2 separate regions of the Homo sapiens genome follow, and region 1 is linked to region 2. The links are contacts of gene promoters, found by promoter capture Hi-C in human tissues and cell types (Jung and others, 2019). All regions are on one chromosome and are shown on one strand. The core of a region is centred on a gene start or on the middle of the fragment in contact, and the rest is flanking DNA. Distances in the headings are between cores, read along the strand shown. Region 1 overlaps EML1 (EMAP like 1). Region 2 holds the start of DEGS2 (delta 4-desaturase, sphingolipid 2).

Region 1 (4,927 bases), core at 1,939-4,438, 320 kb after region 2:
TATCTCTTTAAAGAAGTAAAACTATAAAGCAAGAACAACTTGCAAATATCCTTTTCTCATGCTCCTCCTCTCCTAGAACTAAATATACCATTCTTTATGCTCCCAATGTAGAATCCATACTGTTTATTAGGAGTACTGATGGGGATGTGTGCACGTCCTCTTTTTTCTGTTTCTCTCTATTGAATGAGAAATATAAAGAACTTTACAAACTCAACAGTGAGAAAACAATCCAATTTTAAAAATAGGCAAGGGGAAAAATGGGCAAAAGACTTAAATAGACCACCAAAGAGGTTATTCAGGTAACAAGCAGGCACAGGAAAAGATGTTCAACATCATTAGTCATTATGGAAATGCAAATTAAAACTACAATGAGATATTATTACACATCTATTAGGATGGTTAAAAGTAAAAATGCTGACAAAAGCAAGTGCAGTGAGAATATGGAGCAAATGAAACACACTCTCCCCCACTGCTGGTGGGCACACAAAATGACACGACCACCCTGGAAAACAGTTTACCATTTTCTTATAAACACATATTTCCAATATGACCTAGCAATTCTTAAGTATTTGCTCTAGAAAAATGAACAATATTCATACAAAAACCGATACGCCAATGTTTCTGGTGGCTCTGTTCAGACTTGATAGAAACTGGAAACAACTCAAAGGCCCTTCAACTGGTGAATGGATAAACTGTGGTGCACTCATACAATGGAATATACTCAGTAATAAAATGGGATGAATGACTGATACACAAAACAACTTGCATGGGTCTCAAAGGCATTATACTGAATGAAGAAAGCCCATCTCAAAAGGTTACATCCTGTACTATTCCATTTATATGACATTCTCCAAAGACAAAACTGTAATGAAGGAGAATGGATCAGTGGTTGCCAAATGCTGGGTTGGGGACACTGCACAAGGGAATTTTGAAGGTAATTGGAATGTTCTATATCCTTAGTGGTGGTTGTTACATTAAACCATACTTTGTTAAAACACATAGAATTATCTCAAAAATGACAGTTTTTATTGAATGTTAACATATAAAATAAAGTAATTTTATGAGCATTTAAGTAAGATAAGGTCCACTCATTGGTTTTGCCAATTTTTTTTTTTTTTTTTTGACAAAGTCTCACTCTGTTGCCCAAGCTGGAGTGCGGTGGTATGATCTCAGCTCACTGCAACCTCCACCTCCCAGATTCAGGTGATTCTCTTGCCTCAGCCTCCCCAGTAGCTGGGACTACAGGCACACACCACCATGCTCGGCTAATTTTTGTATTTTCAGTAGAGACGGGGTTTCGCTATGTGGGCCAGGTTGGTCTTGAACCCCTGACCTTGTGATCCGCCCGCCTCGGCCTCCCAAAGTGCTGGGATTACAGGTGTGAGCCACTGCGCCTGGCCTGGTTTTGCAAATTTACAAGTTATTTTTGCTTGTTGGGATTGGTTGCTATTATACTATGAGAGCTCAGCAGAGAAATATTTCAATGAAAACTAAGTACTTATTGCTCAAGGGAAAGAGACTGTCCTTAAGTGCTATGTAACTTCTTGTGAATGGACAGTAGTTCTGTGGAATTTCTCCATTTCTCCTTTGACTTTGGATAGGAGGGAAAGAAAATCTCACTTCAAAATGTCATGCCACTGGGAGAGAGAAGTGGGGAAGATAAGAAGGTATTTTATATCTGTCTTCCCTCTGAGGAGTAATTAAACAGTTCAGTGAAATCTTCTAATGTGTGAATAAAAGAAGGCAGAGTCAGGTTGGTGTAACAACCATTGTGTAGGACGCTGGGTCAACACACACCTACCTGGGAAGGTCTCTGGCCTCAGGCGGAAGGCAGGGAGAGTTCTACTAAGGTAGGAGAAGACATTCTAGAGCTAAGTCAGTGTTGACAGCACTGGCAGAAGAGGCATAGACTTCAGTCTTTAAGAGCACGGACTATGGAGTCAAGCTACCTGGGTTCAAATCCCAGCTCTGCCACTTACTAGCTACATGACCTAGGACAAACTACTTAATCTCTATCTGCCTCTATGTATAAAACAGGTGCAACAAGAGTATTTCATAGGGTTGTTATAATATTAAATGAGTTGACACATTTAGAGTACTTAGAATACTTTTTGCATATAGTGCATGTATAAATAAATATAAGCTGTAATTAAGTTATTGTTACTATTGTTGTTTCCAATAAAAATTACCAAAACAAATCCAAGTTTAACAAAATTCCTATGTGCTGTCTCAACGGTTATGCAAATTAGCACTGAATAATTAGAAATTAGTGCATAATTAATAATATTTGCTTTTTAAATCATGAAAGAATCTGTAGCATAGACTCATGCATTTATTTTTTTTCTTTAGCAATAGTGTCTCACTCTGTTGCCCAGGCTGGAGTGCAGTGGTGCGATTACAGCTCACTGGAGCCTTGACCTGGGCTCAAACAATCCTCCTATCTCAGCCTCCCGAGTAGTTGGAAGTACAGATGCACACCACCACATCTAGGTAATTTTTAAACTTTTTATAGAGATGGGGTCTCATTATGTTGCACAGGCTGGTCTTGAACTCCTAGCCTCAAGCGATTATCCTGCCTCAGCGTCTCAAAGTGCTGGGATTACACAGGCATGAGCCACCACACCCAGCCTAGAACTGTGCATTTCTATGACATTTTTGGGTTGTTCGTGCAGACAGCAGCTTCTAGAGAAGGCACACACGCTCACTGCTGGGACTCAAGCACATTTATTGTGGCTGCCAGCACAGGATTGAGGAGGAAAAAGTTGGTCTCTGTAGTATAACCTTGCATTTTCAAATCAATATTATAAAACAACATACAGAGTAAGGCAAGACTGGCCTGCTCCCTGCATTCAAAAACTTTAGCATCACTGTGGTCTCAGTGGCTTTAATAAAACTGCACAAATCAGAATATTTAAATTATATTGCTGAATTTATATAGGAAAAAGTTTGATTTTAATATTTTAATAAAAACCCCCACCACCTCAATATTTGCCTTCAAATACAAATGGTTAAAAACTGAAATGTCAGATCTGCTTAGGAGAGCCCCCATTTGTGAGATTTGCTGAAGTTTTCCCCATGACATAATCCTAGTGCTTTTCAGATCCTGCCAAAATCATTGCTTTAACCTGTAATGGATTTTCTTACTTCTGTTTCTGCAGGTAATTAATCTGAAGAATACGACTGGGAGACTTCTTGGCAGCAGCATGAGCTGTCTGAGGTTCTTAACCTTCTTGTGTACAGAAAAGACCAGTGTTGTTCAAATGACTTTACACTTCAATTAAGCTGGGGGAAAAACTGATTAGCATAATGAAGAACAAAGCCTAAAGCTTGCTTTAACCAACACAAACCATTTGAATCTCTAAGCATTTCATAGGATTCCACAGCACAAGATGTGAAACTTCATCTGAATTTCATCAAAGAAAACCTCAGGTTGGGAATGCAGCACCAATAAAACTTTAACAACTTATTTATTTTAAAGTCATTTTTGCTCCTATACCTCTCAAATCTATCTGTGGAGGTCATTAAAACAGTGTCAATAATTGAGCTTTAGCTTTTTTTCCCCCAAGTTTTTACATTCTTGTCTATTATCACTTTACAGTGTTAGAGGGAGGTTTGAAGAAGACAATATTCTCTAAACTTTTACCTCTTGGGTTTTCTAAAACTTTTGTGTGAACTGGAGCTCCGGTTGGGCTGGGCACCTGCTCCTTTCCTGATCTGTTTACACATGGCAGTGTGTAACTGCGTCTATGGGGCGGTGTCTCTATCTCAGTATTGGGGAACGATCTCCCACGTTGTGATCTCGCAGCACATGCTGACTCTATGGGCACAGGGTAGACAAGATTTAATCAGAGGGAAAACTGAACACCCAGTGGTGCGAGGCATTGATGCAGATGTCTTAGCTGGCCAACCACTCTGAAAGCCACTCTGCAGCCTCTGCCAACAACCCTTCTCAGGGCTACACGTTCCAACTTTGTGGCATTTTGTCAAGGGCCAAACACTGTTGAGAGTAGTCTGCTAAGGGTTACCTATACTGCCCTGTCTGGGTCCTGGGGCTTTAGAGGCACAAGAGAGAGAGCACTGATTTGGGATTCAAACTGAGCAGTAGCCAATTCCTAATCTGTCCCCTATTAGCTATGTGACCTAATACCACCTGCCTTCTGACGTTCCTGTGAAGATGAATGTTAGCGTGTATGAAACTTCTAATACTATGACGGCATACAGACACTCAACACAAATGGTACTTGAGCCTTACTAGAATCCATTGTTATGAATATTCCTGTTTTGTTTATAAGAGCAAAAAGCAAACATTGATCTTCAGTGAAATCAACGATTAACAATAATTATTGAACAAATTCTGCAAATACTGTGCAGGTCTCTCTCTGCAGCACCTCTGGCCAAGTTGAGGAAATGTGATGTTAGCCTTAAGATAAGGCATGGTTTGATGCCACACGAGCCCTCCCACTTGGCAGCACACGACCAGTGGCAAAAGGACAGGCCAAGTGTTACCTCTCATAGCCTCCAGCTCCAACTTGACTCTCATGAGAACCCAGCCAAGCACTGGCTTCTTTCTGAGTTTCAAGGGATGCCATGGGTCTGGGCAGCCCCTACATCACCCGCAGTTTCAGAAGCAAAAAGAAGACCTTGTAGCTCTGCTTTTACCATAGGTCCTCATGTAGCTATTTACAGATCTGACTTTGAAGTTTAATTACTTTTTCTCTTACTGTAAAAAACAGAACAAAAGGGTTTCCGGTAACATGATGTGTTTCACTCTATTAAAAGGTGAGAGAAGCATGCTTTTTTCTCCATTCATGTGATTATCTCAGTATCCAGGGATAAGAGCAGGCTCTTGACTCTGTAAATCTTCCAGTAATACTAAGACATTGTTATCTGAGTGCTATTCCCGGAGGTTAAAGTGGCCTAGTAATTT
Region 2 (5,175 bases), core at 352-2,851:
TGGCAGGCTTGGTGTTGTCCTGAGGGTGGAGCTGGGGCTCAGGGCGGCAGATCTCACGGAGTTCAACACAGGGGCGAAGGCTCTGATTTTGGAAGCTTTTTAATTCAAAGGTCAGGGGCCAAAGTCATGCCCCAGCCTTGCTGTTAATTCCTCTGTGCCTCAGGCAAGGCGCTCCTCATCTCTGGGCCTCAGTCTCCTGATCTGTAAAGTGATGGCTGGTGGGATGACTTCTGAGGACCCTTCTGGCTGGGAACAGAGCAGGCTGCCCTGGGAGCAATGAGTCTTCTCCCAAGGGTGCAAGCTGGGCCGGGAGGCCTCCTGGGTGTGGCAAGGGGTGATGGCCATGGTGGCATGTGGGTCCCCCTGCTGATGGAAAATCTGGCCTCTGTGTCCACCTTTCCCATGGCTAATTCAGGGGATGGTGGCTGGCGGCTGCAGGACACCCATGCCTTCCTTCCTGGCTCACTCAGGACTGCCTTTGGCCCTGAGCTAAGGAAGGCCTGCCAAGTGTACCAAACCCCGGGCCATGGACTTCCATGGGACGCACAGAAGCACGCCCTCACTATGTGCGAGCCTGTGGCAGCGCTGGCTGATGTGTCAGTCAGCTCCCAGGCAACTGCCAGCCGAGGCCAGGCTCTGGCCCACAGGCACAGCAGGTCCACCCTCCAAAACTCCAAGGGAGTGGGAGAAGGAACAGAGGCATCACTGAGAGGGTGAAGATGAGGGGCCCTGTGCCCTTACCTCCCCAAAACTAGACTTTCCATTTGAGAACATTCAGGTTCTGCCTTGTTTCCAAGCGTTTGCATCTGCTGTTCCCCCTAGCACCAATGCCTTTCCCTTTTCTAGCTGTTGAACTCCTACCCACCCCTCAAGGCCCAATGCAAAAGTTCCTTCTATTGGATCCTAGCTGCTTCAGGGCCTACCTGTGTCATGGCACGTATCACCCTGAATCATAACAGCCACTTCTGTACCTGTGTCCCCATCCAGAACTCAAGTTCCCTGAAGGCAGGAGTGGGTCTGACTCATCCCTGTGAGGTTGCTGCAGACGCATTATCTCCCCTTTGCATTATTGGTGAAAGGGCCGGGTGGAGGAAGGGAGGATTGCTGCACCAACCTTTCCTCGGCGCCTGTTTACTGGCACCGTCGCATCCATTCCACGCCGATCCTCCGCAGTCCCCCTATCCTGCCAGCCGCTCCTCCTTGGGGCAGGGGCGGCGCGAGCCACAGGGGCGTGCCCGCGAGCGGGTCGGGGCTGCGGAGAGAACGGGCCGGGGTAAAAACCCGACGGCTGCCCGCGGGTGGGCGGGGCGCGCAGAGCCGGTGGGAGGCCGCGGTGGCAGCAGTCGCCCCCGCGCATCGAGGGACCCAGGGACTCGCGCAGATGGCACGCGGCCACCTCGGTCCTGCCGGGGAGCCCCATTTCCAACCGAGGCAACTGAGGTTCCCAAAGCGCCAGCTACCCGCCGGGGTCTGGAGAGCGCCGGGGCCCGGCCGCCCCGCCCAGCCAGAGGTGCCCCGCCCCAAGCCTGGCGCACCTGGCCCCGCCCCGCCGGGACCCCGCCCCCGCCCTAATCAGAGCTGGTTCCGCGCCGCGGCCGCCGCGACAGGTGCAGCAGAGCCGAGCCGGCCGCGCTCCGAACGGCGCCTCCCGCCCCACCATGGGCAACAGCGCGAGCCGCAGCGACTTCGAGTGGGTCTACACCGACCAGCCGCACACGCAGCGGCGCAAGGAGATACTGGGTGAGCGCCGCGCGGGGCCCACCCCGGTGGGGACCGCCCCGTTGGCCCGTCTGGAGTCGCGTCGTGGGGTCGAGCCCAGACGGGCCGCTCCAGCTCTGGCCCAAATTCCAGTGGGCGTTCCGCCATTGCCGCTCCCCTCCCTGGGGTCCCCGGCCGGCTCCCCGAGGGTCCCCCACCCTGGCCGGGTCTGAAACTCCCTGGGACCTGAGGATTCCGAGGACCCCAGTACGGGTCCGAGCGCCAGGGAGCGCGTCCCAGCTGTTCCTCGCGAGCCACTCCCGGGGCCAGGGCCGGGGCTCTGGGATGCTGGGACGCGAGGGCGCAGGGGCGGCCCCGGGACGCGCTACGAGGCGCACGCGCTCCCTGGCGCGGAGGCAGCTTGCGCGACGCGGGGCCTCCACCCGCAGTCACTGGGCGCCTGCTGCGCTCAGAGCCCCTGGGTCTCGCGGCCACGGGCGCCCCAGGCTGGAGTTCAGGGCGGATGAGCGCCGGGAAGGGAGCAAACGCGAATGAGAGGCGCGCGTGTTTTCTTTGAAAAAAGCAAAGATTGTACTAAAGAATCCTTCTATTCTGGCATGTCGCTTATTACGTGGTGGCTGTTTTCCTTGTTGCTTCGTGTCCTCTGCGAGGAGGGCATCTTTACCCACTCGGAGTCACTCTCGTTCATGCCAGAGGCCCCATCCCACCCACAAGCAAGGTGGCCCCGGTGAGTCGTCCTTGGCCCGGGCTTACGGGGTTAAAGGGCCTGCGTCTGGAGAGTGGCTTTTGCCAGATGCCACCAAATCGCCACAGGCTGAGACAGGCCCGCCCCTCCCGCCCTGCCTAAGTCAGCACCGCGCGTTGCCACACTTTGTAATCTTCAGTCAGATTGGGGAAACAATACCATTTCACTGTGGCTTTAATTTGCACTTATTTGATGGAGGTTTCACATTTTAATCGGGCGTTTTATTTAATTTAATTAATTTATTTATTTAGAGACAGAGTCTCGCGATCTCGGCTCACTGCGACCCCCGCCTCCCAGGTTCAAGCGATTCTCCTGCCTCAGCCTTCTGAGTAGCTGGGATTACAGGCACCTGCCACCACACCCGGCTAATTTTTGTATTTGTAGTGAGATGGAGTTTCACCATGTTGGCTAGGCGCGATCTTAGCTCACTGCAACCTCTCCCCACTGGGCTCAACTGATCCTCCTACCTCAGCCTCCTGAGTAGTTGAGACTGCAGGTGTGTACCACTATGCCCGGCTATTTTTTTTGTATTTTTACTAGAAACAGGGTCTTGCCATGTTGCCCAGGCTGGTCTCAAACTTCCGAGCTCGAGGGATCCACCCATCTCAGCCTCCCAAAGTGTTGGGACTACAGGCATGGGCCATGAGCCACCACGCCTGGCCTGAACAACTTTTTTTTTTTTTTTTTTTTTTTTTGAGAGGAAGTCTTGCTCTGTCGCCCAGACCGGAGTGCAGTGATGCGATCTCCACTCACCGCAACCTCCGCCTCCCAGGTTCAAGCGATTCTCCTGCCTCAGCCTTCTGAGTAGCTGGGATTACAGGCACCCGCCACCACACCCGGCTAATTTTGTATTTGTAGTAGAGATGGGGTTTCACCATGTTGGCTAGGCTGGTCTCAAACTCCTGACCTCAGGTGATTCACCCGCCTCTGCCTCCCAAACTGTTGGGATTACAGGTGTGAGCCACTGCGCCCAGCCAACTTTTTCTTTCTTCCTCTTTTTTTAATCCCATGGCAGCATACTGAGATACCATGACTTTTAAATGTTTGAAACCCAAGATACATTGGGTGGCTAGCCTGTGACTGCATCCCGGGGTAACTGGGGCCTCAGGAGCTGGAAGCCTCTATGTGGGTTTGTGACTGCTGTGGTTTCTCCTGGGAGGTGAGCTGCAGCCCAGCATCGTCTGGTCCCAGCAGTGGTAGCTGCCTCCCGTATGCTGTGGAACTCCTGGGGAGGGCTGGGAGGAACCTTGGGGGTCATCTGACCCTCCCTCCCTGCTCATCATGTGAACAGGGCAGGTGTCCTGGCTACTGCCCCTCAGCAGGTCTGAGGTGGGGCTGAGGCTGGAGCAGGGGCCTCCTTGGCCCTGTTTGCATTTCTGTCCCCTCCCCTGGCTATCCCCAGCTTCACTTCACAGGACTCATTGGGTATCTGGCACCATGTGGAAAAGGCAAGAGGCACATGGCAGCCAGTGTCCTGGTCCCTAGGAGCTCATATCCATAGAATAGGAGCTGGGCCTACCTCAGGGCCACCTGGAGGGATCCAGACACTCTGGGCTGTGGCCTCACTTTCCCAATCTGCAAAACGGGCAGTCGTCCTACCAGGCAGAGTAGGTGTGAGGATGAGATGATATCTCAGCTGGGAAGGTGCCCGAGGTGGTACCTGGCCCTCCAGGACGTGGGGAAGGAGCTCTCTCTAAAGAGGGAAGCCACAGGCCCTGGAACCAATCCAGGAGGCTTTCTGGAGGTGGTGGCTAGGAAGGTTGAAAGACTTGGAAAAGGGAGAGGCACCTGGGGCCAGGGCTTGGGGAGCACAAGTCCTCAGGGCGGGCCCTCCAGCTTGGTCCACGCTCCCTTTCCTGCAGGGCGGAAGCAGGGGCTTCCTTTCCACCTGTTGTTTTCAGCTAATAAATTTGGAATGTGCCATTCCCTCCCTCCCCGGCACAAGCTGTTCCCCCAGGTGAATGTCCCTCCTCCCTGCTCTGCCAGGCTCTGTCTTGCTTAGCCTTGCTCGCTCAGTTCAGTCCCACCTCCTGCAGAAAGCCCCTCCACTGCTCCCAGACCTGGCCCAGCTGGATGGGGACCCCTCCTCTGGGTTCCCCTCCATGGCTCCAAGCCCTCTGGGCTCTGGGCTCTTTGGGGCACAGTTCAAGAGCTTGGCTGTGGAGCTGAACCCCTGGCAAGGACCCTGACACCCACTTATTAGCCACGGGTGAGTCTGTAAACAGATGAAGGAGTTGGGGCCTGGGCAAATGAAAAGGGGTTAATAAATCATACCTTCCTAATGGGGCTGCTGTGCAGATTAAACGAGGTGATATGTAAAGTGCTTATTCCAGGACTCGATGAGTATCAGCTGCGATGATAATGATTAATGTCTCAGAGACCTGGCAAGGGCTGTCGTTTCCCTAAGGACAGGGAATACTCTCTGCTTCCTCCATGCCTATGCTATTCCCAGGCCTTGGAGAAATGCTCTGTGTAACTGCCAGCATCTCTTTATAGAAGAGGCAGGAGTGAGGCTGAGAGAGGGGAAGCAACTTGCCGGGGAACACACAGGCCAGGCTGGTGCTCAGGCAGCCTCCTGCCCCACCCAGCTGGCTCCTGCAGCCTATGCCAAGCTCCTGGGTGCCCAGGGATGTTCAATAAAGATCATAATCTGACAGTCAGAATCCAGGAAGTCCTTGCAAAGAGCTGGCTCCAGGAGCTCTGTGGGTTGG

Evidence for each region. The method cuts DNA at HindIII sites, captures the fragments that hold promoters and counts their contacts. A contact is called where the count stands out against the background at its distance.
Region 1: a fragment that was not itself captured here is called in contact with the fragment with the promoter of DEGS2 in region 2 in 2 of the 25 tissues and cell types used here (IMR-90 fibroblasts and liver).

What each region holds. Positions count from the first base shown.
Region 1 is chr14:99,840,672-99,845,598 of GRCh38, reverse strand. All of the region lies in intron 1 of EML1 (EMAP like 1), which reads right to left. Among named protein-coding and RNA genes, the nearest start is that of EML1, 50 kb to the right of the region's middle. The HindIII fragment of the contact is 5,012 bases long and covers 683-4,927 here.
Region 2 is chr14:100,156,071-100,161,245 of GRCh38, reverse strand. DEGS2 (delta 4-desaturase, sphingolipid 2) reads left to right here and starts at 1,601. Exons shown (of 3, transcript NM_206918.3): 1 at 1,601-1,740. The coding sequence starts at 1,659. It overlaps LOC124903380 (a long non-coding RNA gene), which reads right to left and starts at 1,209. Exons shown (of 2, transcript XR_007064330.1): 1 at 1,115-1,209. RefSeq lists silencers at 1,255-1,654, 1,755-1,814. The HindIII fragment of the contact is 21,272 bases long and covers 1-5,175 here.